2 separate regions of the Homo sapiens genome follow, and region 2 is linked to region 1. The links are contacts of gene promoters, found by promoter capture Hi-C in human tissues and cell types (Jung and others, 2019). All regions are on one chromosome and are shown on one strand. Each heading gives the region's core, a stretch centred on a gene start or on the middle of the fragment in contact. The rest is flanking DNA. Distances are from core to core; before and after follow the strand shown.

Evidence for each region. The method cuts DNA at HindIII sites, captures the fragments that hold promoters and counts their contacts. A contact is called where the count stands out against the background at its distance.
Region 2: a fragment that was not itself captured here is called in contact with the fragment with the promoter of L1TD1 in region 1 in 1 of the 25 tissues and cell types used here (hippocampus).

Annotation. Positions count from the first base shown.
Region 1 is chr1:62,189,248-62,196,098 of GRCh38, reverse strand. L1TD1 (LINE1 type transposase domain containing 1) reads right to left here and starts at 1,250. Exons shown (of 4, transcript NM_019079.5): 1 at 1,178-1,250. It also overlaps the pseudogene PIGPP2 and the pseudogene RPS15AP7. RefSeq lists enhancers at 395-1,250, 1,251-2,107. The HindIII fragment of the contact is 18,338 bases long and covers 1-6,851 here.
Region 2 is chr1:61,164,088-61,170,538 of GRCh38, reverse strand. The region is part of intron 2 of NFIA (nuclear factor I A); the gene reads right to left. Among named protein-coding and RNA genes, the nearest start is that of NFIA, 85 kb to the right of the region's middle. The HindIII fragment of the contact is 4,667 bases long and covers 2,549-6,451 here.

The DNA of each region.
Region 1 (6,851 bases), core at 1-2,500:
AAAAGTTATTACTTCCAAATCAATTTTTCCAGTCACATAATTAAACACTTTTTTTTTTTTTTGAGACGGAGTTTCGCTCTGCCGCCCAGGCTGGAGTGTAGTGGCCCGATCTCGGCTCACTGCAACCTCCGCCTCCCCGGTTCAAGCGATTCTCCTGCCTCGGCCTCCCTAGTAGCTGGGACTACAGGCGCGAGCCAACACACCCGGCTAATTTTGTATTTTTGGTAGAGACGGGGTTTCCCAAGTTGGCCAGGATGGTCTCGATCTCCTGACCTCGTGATCCGCCCCCGCCTCGGCCTCCCAAAGTGCTGGAAAATAACACGCCCGGCCCTCCATCTTTTTTTATTTGAGACAGTTTCGCCCCTGTTGCCCAGTCTGGAGCGCAATGGCGCGATCTCGTCTCAGTGCAACCTCTGCCTCTCGGGTTCAAGCGATTCTCCTGCCTCAGCCTCCTGAGTAGCTAGGATTACAGGCATGCGCCACCACGCCTGGCTAATTTTGTATTTTTAGTAGAGACGAGGTTTCTCCATGTTGGTCAGGATGGTCTCGAACTCCGACCTCAGGTGATCCGCCCGCCTCGGCTTCCCAAAGTGCTGGGATTACAGGCGTGAGCCACTGCTCCCGGCCCCTCCATCCTTTTTCTAAAGCTAGGACTTGTCAAGCACCACCTCATTTTCTTGACTTTATTTTTTCTTCACAGAACTACTTTCATGTTTCCAATTTGGGGATAGATAAGTCTTAGGAGAGTTTTTTTCTCATTGCGCCACGGACAGTAAGGGAAAGAGCAGGGAGTCAAGTGAGGGGGCCAACTGCCTGCCCCTACCCGGGCCCCACGCACGCACCCGGATCAGCCTTGCCTGGGGCACCTCGGGCCTCACGTACCTGGGCCAGCCTTACCCGGGGCACCCCGCGCCCTTCGCGCCTGGACCAGCCTTATCCGGGGCACCCTGGACCTCACGCTCCTGGACCAGCCTTACTTGGGGCGCTGCGGACCCCACGCGCCTAGACCAGCCTTACCCGGGGCACCCCGGACCCCACGCCCCTGGACCAGCCTTACCCGGGGCACCCCGGACCCCACGCGCCTGGCCCAGCCTTACCCGGCGCGCCCCGGACCCCACGCGCCTGGGCCAGCCTTACCCAGGGCACGCCGGGCCCCATGCACCCGGGCCAGCCTTACCTGGCGAAAAAGGAATCCGCCTGGACGACTGAGGAGCGAACAAAGTGAGGATGGAGCCTTGTAACTAAGGACTGAGAGGATTCCCGATCTCTGGGGCTGGCTCCTCCCCTCCTGGTGTGTCCCAACCCCCTCTGTCTACATACCCGCGCCTCCTCCCCGGAAATCGCATTCCGCCCTAAGCAATTGCTGACTTCCATTGCTGCCCCCCGACTGAGTCCAATTCCCTCTGTCTCCACCGTGCCTCCGCTTGAACGAGCCCCACCCCTCAGACCCGACTCCAGACTCAAATCTGAATAAAGGCACCACTAAAGCGCCTCATCACCCAGGCCTGAACCCCAAGGTCACCTCATTCCTTTTCTTCAACCCTCGCAGTTAATCCATTCCTAAGTCCTTGAATTTGCCGGCGTCTCTCCAACTCCACAGCTCCAGCCCAGTCCAAGCCCCCGTTGTCTCTCACCTGGATCACTGAAATCACCTCCAACTGCTCCCTGGCCTCTCCCACGACCCCTCTGTAATCCTTCTCCCCCTCCAATACTGTTCAGTGGCTTCCTGTTTCGGTTAAATTTCTACCTTCTCATTCTATCCGGACTGCCCCTTCAACATTGTCTTAGCACTACTCTTACAACAGAAACACTCTCTTTCTGTTCCTCAAAAAACACGGAACTACCTGCCTCAGGGCCCTTGCACTGGCTGTTTCCTCTGCGAGTTATTTTTTTCTTTTTCTTTCTTTCTTTCTTTCTTTTTTTTTTTTTTTGAGACAGTCTCTGTTGCCACAGCTGGAGTGCAGTGGCATGATCTTGGCTCACTGCAACCCCGGCCTCCTGGGTTCAAGCAATTCTCCTGCCTTAGCCTCCCAAGTAGCTGGGATTACAGGAGCACGCCACCACTCCCGGAAAATTTTTGTATTTTTTTTTTTTCTTTTTGAGACAGAGTTTTCTTATGTCACCCAGGCTGGAGTGCAGTGGCGCAATCTCGGCTCACTGCAACCTCTGCCTCCTGGATTCAAGCGATTTCTCCTGCCTCAGCCTCCTGAGTAGCTGAGATTACAGGCCCATGCCACCACGCCTGGCTAGTTTTTGTATTTTTAGTAGAGGGGGGTTTCACCATGTTGGTCAGGCTGGTCTTGAACTTCTGACCTGGTGATCCGCCCACCTCAGCTTCCCAAAGTGATGGGATTACAGGCGTGCGCCACCACGCCTGGCCACCTCTTTATTTTCCCAGTTCTTTCAGGATGGCTTCTGTTCATCCTCAGGTCTCAGGTCCAATGTTAACTCCTCTAACAGGCCTCCCAGACTACCCTTTCTACAGGAGCCAAACTCCCCATATCCCAATACTCTTTTTTTGTTTTATTTTTGTTTCTTAAGAGAGGGTCTTGCTCTCTAACAGAGACTCAAAGGTTCTGGGTGGTTGGACTCCCCAGGCCTGACTTGCAAGGCTCAGGTGGAACTTGACTTGCCCAAAGTCATGCAGCTAATAAGCAAAGAAGCCTCAATATCTGGTAGTTCAGTCAATACACAGCATATGAATAAACAAAGAGAATTCGGTCTTTTGCTTTTAATCCCTTATTTCTTCTTACTGCCTAAAATCCCAGCACTTTGGGAGGCTGAGGTGGGAGGATCACTTGTTCATAGTTTAAAACAAAGATGATAACAGCCCTTTCCCGAAACAAACCCTGGGGATTTAGACTGCCTTTGCAGTACTAACAAATTAGCCACAGGATTAGAAATTATGGTTTAGGAGTCATGCAGCTGGAGGCTACAAGACTCTGACTCTCCCCAAATGGCTTCTGGGGATAAGACCACTACTGCAAAACCTAAGACCAGGGAGATATTCCACAGATATTTTGCAGATCCTGCACTTGACGGATCAGCTGGTACCACCCAGATCAATAAACTGGCTGATATGATCTTGGTGGCCCCCACCCAGGAATTGATTCAGCGCAAGAAGACAGCTTTGACTCCCTATGATTTCATCTCTGATCTGACCAATCAGCACTCCCAGCTCACTGGCTTCCCCCCTCCCACCAAGTTGTCCTTAAAAACTCTGATCCCTGAATGCTTGGGGAGATTGATTTGAGTAATAAAACTCTGGTCTCCCACACAGCCCACTCTGTGTGAATTACTCTTTCTCTATTGCAATTCCCCTGTCTTGATAAATGGGCTCTGTGTAGGCAGTGGGCAAGGTGAACCCATTGGGCAGTTACAATCACACCACTACACTCCAGCCTGGGTGACAGAGCAAGACCTTGTCTAAAAAAAAAAAAAAAAAAAACTGGGCAAGGTGGCTCAAGCCTGTAATCCCAGCACTTTGGGAGTCCAAGGCAGGTGGATCACCTGAGGTCAGGAGTTTAAGACCTGAGGTAAGCCTGGCCAATATGGTGAAACCCCATCTCTTATAAAAGTACAAATATTAGCCAGGCGTTGTGGTGTGTGCCTGTAATCCCAGCTACTCAGGAGGTTGAGGCAGGCGAATCGCTTGAACCTGGGAAACGGAGGTTGCAGTGAGCTGAGATCGTGCCACTGCACTCCAGCCTGGGTGACAGAGCAAGACCCTGTCTCAAACAAACAAAAAAAACGAAAATTTGAACACTGACTGGATATTTGATGATATTAAGAATAACTGTTGGGCTGGGCGCGGTGGCTCACGCCTGTAATCCCAGCACTTTGGGAGGCCGAGGCGGGGCGGATCACGAGGTCAGGAGATCGAGACCATCCTGGCTAAAACGGTGAAACCCCGTCTCTACTAAAAAATACAAAAAAATTAGCCGGGCGTGGTGGCCGGCGCCTGTAGTCCCAGCTACTCCGGAGGCTGAGGCAGGAGAATGGCGTGATCCCGGGAGGTGGGGCTTGCAGTGAGCCGAGATCATGACACTGCACTCCGGCGTGGGCGACAGAGCGAGACTCCGTCTCGAAAAAGAAAAAGAATAACTGTTAATTTCAGTGTAATAAGATTACTGTGATTAGATTTTTTAAAGGTTAAAGCCTTCTGTTACTTAAGATCACGTGTTCTTGGGCTCTCAGTGCAATAGAAATTGACATGAGGCTGAAGGAGTGTTCCCATACAAGGCTTGTTAGAGCTTATGCACAGACATAACGGAGAGGACTACCTGACTAACTCTGCTTTATTAGACAATCAGGGGTAGAGTATGCAGGTTGGGCTGGGCAAAGCACATGAGGGGTAGAGTATGCGGGTCAGCCTTATCTGGTTTTGATGGCTTTATTGAGTAATGGATCACCCACCTGGTGGTCTGGCGAACAGCAACAAGGCTGTAAATCAATTGTTCAGCATTTCTTCCTGAGGTGGGACACTCCACAACCTTAGTTTAATATTTAGATTTCCTAAAGCCAGTTCCCGGAATTCTTTTAAGTAAAAGGCAAGGTTAAACATTATGGGCGGGGTGCGGTGGCTCACGCCTGTAATCCCAGCACTTTGGGAGGCGGAGGCGGGCAGATCACGAGCTCAGAAGATCGAGAACATCCTGGTTAACACGGTGAAACCCCGTCTCTACTAAAAATATAAAAAAATTAGCCAGGCTTGGTGGCTGGCCCCTGTAGTCCCAGCTACTCAGGAAGCCGAGGCAGGAGAATGGCATAGAACCCGTAAGAGCCAAGATTGCACCACTGCACTCCAGCCTGGGCGACAGAGCAAGACTCCATCTCAAAAAAAAAAAAAATTATGAAAGAGGTGCTGTGCCCCATCCTTATTATATTTCACTTCCAGCCCTATGCTACTAGATTTGGGGTAAAAAGACTGGGTTCTGGGTTCCAATGGGCCAATCAAGGCCTATTTATATGAAGAAGTGGAGCTGGCTGGTGGCAAAGGGAATAGGCTAGTGAGGTGGTGGTGTCCTACAGCAGAGGCCTTGATGCTGGTGCATGCTGCCTCTACGGTACTTGGAGAACTTCCAGCAGATAAGTTGGCCTAAACAGTTGCTTTGTTTTGTTTTGTTTGTCCACTGAAGCATTTTATTTGTACATGTGTATTACATCCCTAGAAAAAGAATTCCAGGATTTTACTCGCTGTGTGTTTTCATTTTGCTTCTTCATGGCCCATGATGTCAGGTGAGGTTGTCAGTACAATGAAACCAAACAGAGGGGAAGGGAAGAGATTATTCTGCCATTTTTCTAGATCTTTGAGTTATATGTCGAATCTGGGCCTGATCACTGCACACTTGTGTAACCTTGTCTGAGAGATTCTCAACAATTTTCCCAGCTCTGTGATCATCGATGACCTCAAATTTGCCAATGTTCAAATTTGAACATTTGAACATGCTTCATCATCAGAGTGAGAAACCAGATGTTGTCTTTGGAGCAAAGCCTAATAAGAACCTAGCCTTTGCCTCTCTCTTCAGCATTGTTGATGCTCTTGAGAACATCTGCCAGGACATTTATGTGCACCATTATGGTGGCACAGTAAGACGGCAGAAAGAGCTTGTTGTTGTTGTTTTTAATTATTATTATTTTTTTTGAGACGGAGTTTTGATTTTGTTGCCCAGGCTGGAGTGCGATGGTGCAATCTCGGCTCACTGCAACCTCCACCTCCCGGGTTCCAGCGATTCTCCTGCCTCAGCCTCCCAAGTAGCTTGGACTACAGGCATGCACCACCATGCCCAGCTAATTTTTGTATTTTTGGTACAGTTGGGGTTTCACCATGTTGGCCAGGGTGGTCTCAAACTCCTGACCCCAGGTGATCCACGCACCTCGGCCTCCCAAAGTGCTGGAGTTACAGGCGTGAGTCAACATGCCTGGCCTTTTTAAAAAATATTCATGAAGTATTGTAAAATTCTGTCCATTAGTAACTAATATTTGAGAACATTTACAATATTAATGGAATTTAAAGATAAGTTAGATGTATGTTTTATTTTACATTTCAATACATCTTAATAGGAGATAAAAATAATTACGGTCACAATTATAATGGCAAAAACATATAAATGTTTGGTGTTAGAATATCTATATACAATTCAGTTTTTGGTATAAAGTTCTTGGTTGCCAAAAAGAACATTAGGTTAACTTCATTAACAGGAATATGTGTTAATGCTGGTATGGCTTCTTGGTATTTTTTTCGTTTGTTTTGTTTTGTTTTGTTTGAGACGGAGTCTCGCTGTGTCGCCCAGGCTGGAGTGCAGTGGCGGGATCTCGGCTCACTGCAAGCTCCGCCTCCCGGGTTCACGCCATTCTCCTGCCTCAGCCTCCCCAGTGGCTGGGACTACAGGCGCCCGCCACCACGCCCGGCTAATTTTTTGTATTTTTAGTAGAGACGGGGTTTCACCATGTTAGCCAGGATGGTCTCAATCTCTTGACCTCGTGATCCGCCCGCCTCGGCCTCCCAAAGTGCTGAGATTACAGCGCCTCGGCCTCCCAAAGTGCTGAGATTACAGGCCTGAGCCACCGCGCCCGGCCCTTGGTATTTTTTTCGCTGTTAATTTTTGGAATAGTTGCGTATGATTTTACGAATGGAGTTGAGTGGAGAGAGAGATACTCATTACTTTAGTGCCAAAAAAGAGTACATAACTGGTTACTATAGTACTAAGGAGGTAGACAGGTAATGCAACTGCCCAGTATTTTTGAAGCCAATAATTTAAGCATGAAGAATTTTGCCAAGATTCAGGAGCCAAAGTCCATAGTAGACAAGGCATGAAGCCAAATTGGGAGTTTAAGAAAAGAACAGAGCC
Region 2 (6,451 bases), core at 3,633-6,132, 1.0 Mb after region 1:
AGGCTAGAGTACAGGGAAATGCCAAATGCTATGACTCGACTGTGAGCACCTCCCAAGGCTATTTATTAGCAAGCTGGATTTCTGGGCCTATCCTAACAATGTAGGTCTTGTCCATAATTTGCCCAAGAGCCCTACAGCGTCTTGAAGGTCAGCTCAAGTTCACAGGCATTCCTCCTCCCCCATCGAGGTAAAAGGAAGTTCTAGAAAATGCTGTGGATCAGAGCAGCTGTGAACCTGTCCAAATGCCACTGACATTTTAGAAATCTTTCAGGGAGACAGGTGTGAGATTCATTCACTTAACCTCTGGGGTCAAGGATGCCTTTGGGAACTTGATGAAAGCCACAGCTGATGGTGTCCAGAGGTTGCAGTCAGACAGTTGTCTATGCATGAGGATCTCCAGGGTAGCTCTATATAGCCAGATGAGGAGGCCAACACAGTGCCTACAGGTACTCAATAAAATTGACTGCCTGACCTGTGCTAATTTACCATGCCTTCCAAACAACAAATGCCCAACGACTACATGGTAGGGGTAATGGGAAAAATCTTCCTTTCTGTACCACCAAAAATCACAATATAATGGCAAATAGAACAAATAACATTACTTTTATTTAAATACCAAAGAAGAAAGCTAAAAATCTTTGCTGTTCAAATTCAATCAGAAGAAAACTGGTTTACTCAACTAATATGGCTCAATGACCATTTCTTGAGCAGCTACTATGTGCAAGAAGCCAGGATTCACAGAGAACACCAAAGAATTATAAGGCCATTTCTACCAACTGGGAATTCAGAACCAAGTTGGGGAGAAAAAAAACAAGAAAGAGGTTACTGACATCATGGGCCATGTTTTAAACCGTTCGCTTTCCCCAGTAAGTAACACAGTGTTTGACAATAAGGGGCATTTAGTAAATATCGGTTGACCACCGAACATTACTGAGTACACGAACACCTAACACACAAGGTAGAATGAGAGTACTGAGTCCAGCCAAAAAGTAGGTAAGGTAATTGCACTGGAAATTGTGGACCCCTTTCCACATTTGGTTGGGGGTGTCCATAAAGTCTTCAGGAAGAGCTGATAGCATTTTAAATGCAGATTGAATGACAAATAGGATTCTACTGGACAGAGATGTGAGGATGGAAAGAAGAGCATTCCTTGGGGGGACAAACTAAGAGAATGCAGGGTGAGAAGTGTCCTGGAAACAAACAGCAAGAAATCAAGTTTGACTGGAACACAGAATAGTGGGAAGGAAAAAGGAGTAAATATTTAGAATCCTCTCTTCTGTGCTTGTTACACAGCTGGAAAAACCAGGCTTCAGACCTTCTATGTTGCCTTTTAAGCTTGCAGCAGCAGGGGAAAAAAAACTTGGAATATTTATCTAAAAGCTTTCAAGATCCACTAAAATGACTTTTTTTCCTTTAGGGAGGAATTGACTAAATTTTGCAAATAAAAGATCCCCTTAAACAGAGTCAAGGCTAAGTTTAACAAGTTGCTATTTTATGCATTTAGGCTTCCCACAAACAGAGCCTGATAGGAGGAGCAGAAGTTTCACAGGTTTGTTCTTTGTTTTATATAGCTGCATCTTCTCACCAACAAAATTATGATAAGACAGACTTTGTTTTCTAAACAAACTTAGGGCCTTCCATAAGCAAAGGAAGTAAGTCTTGCTGCAAAAAAGGAAATGCTGATAAGTTGGTAAATGAAAAATATTTAACAGCCATTCATAATTAAGTTTTCAAAAAACTGTGACCAAAGCTGTGGGTTTGTAGACAACACCAAGATTGCTATAGCCAGGGCTTAATTTTTCAAGCCTTAGAAAAGAGATACATAACCTCCATCTTACAAGCATGAAATAGTCCTGGAGTATTCCAAATATATTTTGAATTTTAAGGAATATAATCCAAGAATTTTTCATTGAACACCTTCAAAAATCAAGGTCATAAGAATATGTTGGTGTTCATAATCTTCACATATCTCTAGTTTAGGAAACTGAAGCTAATTCCTTTAAGAAATTCCAAACAAACAAAGTCTCACCCAGCTGTATATTTAATTCTAGTTAATGTTATAAATAATGCTGTTTTATTTAATCATTCCCCATCATAAAAGGGCAATTTACTAGGGTATTTTTTATTTCAAAAACTATAACTTTTTCAAATATATCTCTCAATATATACCTTTAATATACATGCACACGCAGAGACAGCCAATTTAGGCAGAAGTAGGTGTCACTGAAATCAGTTGCTTTAGAAAAATAATGTAAACATAAGTCAATGCTTGCACTTCCACAGAAGCAGTGGTTTTTAAAAATCACAACTGGTCTTTGCACTATTGATTAGGGCTTTGCTTTTCTATATCTGTATGGGTTAATTCCACAAGCTTATATGATTATTAATGCCCCAAGTTAACATAAATATATGTGCTAAACTTGGCTTAAAAATGTATACCTAAAGTAACACAAAAAAAGCTCTGACAATGTTCCCCACTACCTGCAATCAAAGCTCAGACCCACTAGCCCTCTGATGGTCCTTTATCTGATCCATCATGTACATGCAAGGTATCAACTGGCATAAAATCTTCCTAATCTTATTAAGTGTACATCAAAATCTATATATGTGGAGAGCATCCAACACTGGAATTTAAATAACCTTCAGGATTTGAGCTAGGGGTTTTGCCAGGCATACCCAGAAATCTACCAGAGATAAAAATAAGCTGTAAAATGCCTTTGAAAGCTTGGTGGTAGAGAAAATGAAATTAAAAGAAAACTAAAAGGATCATAACACCTAAAACCTGCAAATGTTTTAATGAGAAATAACACCATTTTTGGCTCAAACAAATAACAACAGGATTAATAGTTGTAGATTTGTCCCTTCTACTGAGATCCTTTTTCAAATTATTTCAAAAAATGAGTATGTGAGAGATTGATTTTTAAAGCCATGTAAATTCTCAGAGACAATGCAGACTGACTTAATTATAATCAATAAAATCTACAGACATTGATGCAACCCAGCAGAAACACCGCTACCAAAAAGGCATAGCATAAAAGTCACCCTGTGGCTCCCTTTGTACACAACAGTAATATGACCTTAATAAATATTTCATTCCTTTCAGTGAATAACCAAGCATCAAGATAGCAAATTTTAATAGCTATGAAATAATATCATAATGACTCTACAAAGAAAATGCCTCCTTTAGAGAAAAGTAACCTTATTTTAAAGTGAAAGTTTTAGTCTTCATTTCCAAAACATACTCCAAATCAGTACACGATCATACATGAGTACACTCATCTATCTTCCTTGCCATACAGATTGAGATATTGCTTAAAGAGGTTTTTACAGGGTTATTTTTCTCACTATGGGAACATAAGAAATGTCTTATGGGAAAATATGTAAATTCTTTTTTTGTTTAGACAGAGTCTCACTCTGTCACCCAGGCTGGAGTGCAGTGGCATGATCTCAGCTCACTGCAACCTCCACCTCCTGGGTTCATGCCATTCCCCTGCCTCAGCCTCCCGAGTAGCTGGGATTACAGGTGTGTGCCACCTCGCCCGGCTAATTTTTTGTATTTTTAGTAGAGATGGGGTTTCACCGTGTTAGCCAGGATGGTCTCGATCTCCTGAACTTGTGATCCGCCCGCCTTGGCCTCCCAAAGTGTTGGGATTACAGGCGTGAGCCACTGCGCCCGGCCAGAAGGAAGGAAAAGATGTAAGTTCTTTAAGTACAAGAACACTATATTTATCCTCACACAAAGTAGGTCCTCAATAAACCCTCCTGAATTGACTGTAGGGAAGAGACAATAATCATGCTGAGAGAGCCTATACTCCCAGGTTTCTTTCATGAGTTAAAATTAACACCTAAGAGTCTATAAACTATAAGTAGTTTGGTAGGTGTTTCTTCACTAAGTACATTATCATATATTTACCCATATTTAAGAAAGAAACCTATGACTCCCAGGTTTCTTTCATGAGTTAAAATTAACACCTAAGAGTCTATAAACTATAAGTAGTTTGGTAGGTGTTTCTTCACTAAGTACATTATCATACATTTACCCATATTTAAGCCCATCTGCTATTTTTCTTCTCAGTTGGCCAGTGTGGGTGGATCTTCTGATACAGGGAAAAGAAATGAGTATGGAACACAGACGGAGCTGGGTTCAAAGCTCAACTCCAAAATGTAATGAATACATATCTCAGGCAAGTCATTTGGTGTGGACTTGGCATCCTCATCAAGGAAACAGTGGTAACAAAAGCTAATTTATAAGATTGGGATGAAGATTAAAGACAGCAATTTCAATGCGTCTGGCATAATCTCTCACATTATAGGTAGATATTGAATGGAAATGTACTATATTTTCCTATACAAATAGGTTTCCCTACTCTTTTCTTCCTTGTCTCTAAGAGTCCCCTATTAAAACAAAGCAATAATTATAATCCTACTATAAAGTAGATTTTCATACAGCATCTGGACAAAATTTTTATTTTTAATCCTAACTAGATTATTTGGAATAGCAGACTGGTTCTCATATCTATATACCCTTTCAATCATTCTAAAAGACTGTCTAAGCATAGTCTTCCCTAATAAAACAGTTTTGCCTTTTATCCTATAGCTTAACTATTTAATTATCGTAGTATTACTAAAGATTCCACTAACTTGCTCAGCCTGACAAAGTGATTACGTATTGGATTATATGTTGTAAAAGTTCCCATGCTTTTAGGTACTCAGTAGGCAGCCAACTCACAGACCCTAAACTTATCATAGTAATATTGAGGAGTAACCCTTCAGATTATCTGGGGTTCTTTTTTATTAACATCTAGATCATGAAAACCCAAATTTATAACCCCAAGAAGAAATGATCAGGACCAAATTGGCAGAAATATTTTTCTCAATTTATCTACATGTGATGACTTCCTGAATTTGTCAAGGACATTAAAGAACAGCTAACTCAGCAGTTAAGCTGCAGAAAGGTGTAAGCAAAAATATCACACGAGTCAATTTGCTGGAGTCAAACAGATATGGTTTTCCTTTAGTGCATTCTTAGCTGTGATTTGGAGTTCTTCAAACTTCCATGATTCTTGAGTTTAGTTAACTAAATACATACGTGGTTTGGTAGCACTTCAACTACATACATGCATATAGAATATACTTTTAATCAGCTTAAAATGGCTGCTTTTGTAAAGCATTTTGCAAGAATTTCCCAGTGTCTGAGTTAAGTATACAGATATTAATAAAAAGAGATTTCTTTCTAATAGAGATTACCAAAATCAGGTAACAATGATTTACAAAACAGGCATTTATCTCAGAATAAAAACAACTAAAGGGAAGTGTAGTTTATCCATCATTTTTAAAAAATAGAGTAATTCATATATTAAAATGTAATATAGCAGTACAGAAATAACATTAAATGGTATTTTCTTCTCTAGCTTCTCCACTAAAACTCTAAATAAACTTTTCCAAGAAATAAATTTATACAATGTTCCCTCAACAGTTTGCACATTGTTAGCAATGACCTATCGTATATATAATACGAAACCATTTAAACAAAAAAATAAAGCACTGGCTGCCTCTCCGACCCTCCTCCTTTCCACCCAAATGATACCTTCACTTTATAATCCCCAATCTGAAGATTTTTGATAAATACTGCAGGCCACAGGGTCTTCAGGTCCTGCAGTTGGGTTTCATGTTGAGTTAGCTGCTGTGCCAGACAGCAACTGTTCACTAGTAAGTGCAACAATGATTTCCCACTTCTTCACCATCTCCCACTGTAGAGGCTAGAAAGCTTGAGACATTTGGCTGGACGTGGTGGCTCACACCTGTAATCCCAGCACTTTGGGAGGCTGAGGTGGGCAGATCATGAGGTCAGGAGATTGAGACCATCCTGGCTAACATGGTGAAACCCCATCTCTACTAAAAATACAAAAAAATTAGCCGGGCGTGGCGGCGGGCGGCTGTAGTCCCAGCTACTCGGGAGGCTGAGGCAGGAGAATGGCGTGAACCCAGGAAGCAGAGCTTGCAGTGAGCTGAGATCACGCCACTGCACTCCAGCCTGGGCGACAGAGCAATACTCCATCTCCAAAAAACAAACAAACAAACAAAAAAAACACATAACAACAAAAAAAAGAAAGCTTGAGACATTTTCCCAAGCTTCCTTGCAGCCAGAATGACCCAGTTTTGGCCAGTAAATCATAAGGGATGTCTCCTGTGTAGTTTCTGGAAAAGTTTTCACTTTCCTGATAAATGGAATAAATAAGGCTAGTCTAATGTATCTCCTTCATTATCCTACCTTCAACATACATATGGCAACCATAAATGACAAGCACTTTTTTTTTTCAAGTCAACAAATGAAGCATGTCAGGACAGAAAAATGGAAAGTGTCTAAATTCTTGTTGGTATTAGTGAGCAAATAAAAACACTAGCTATTACTGCTGGACTCACTGCTATGTAAGAAAAAAAAATCTTTGTT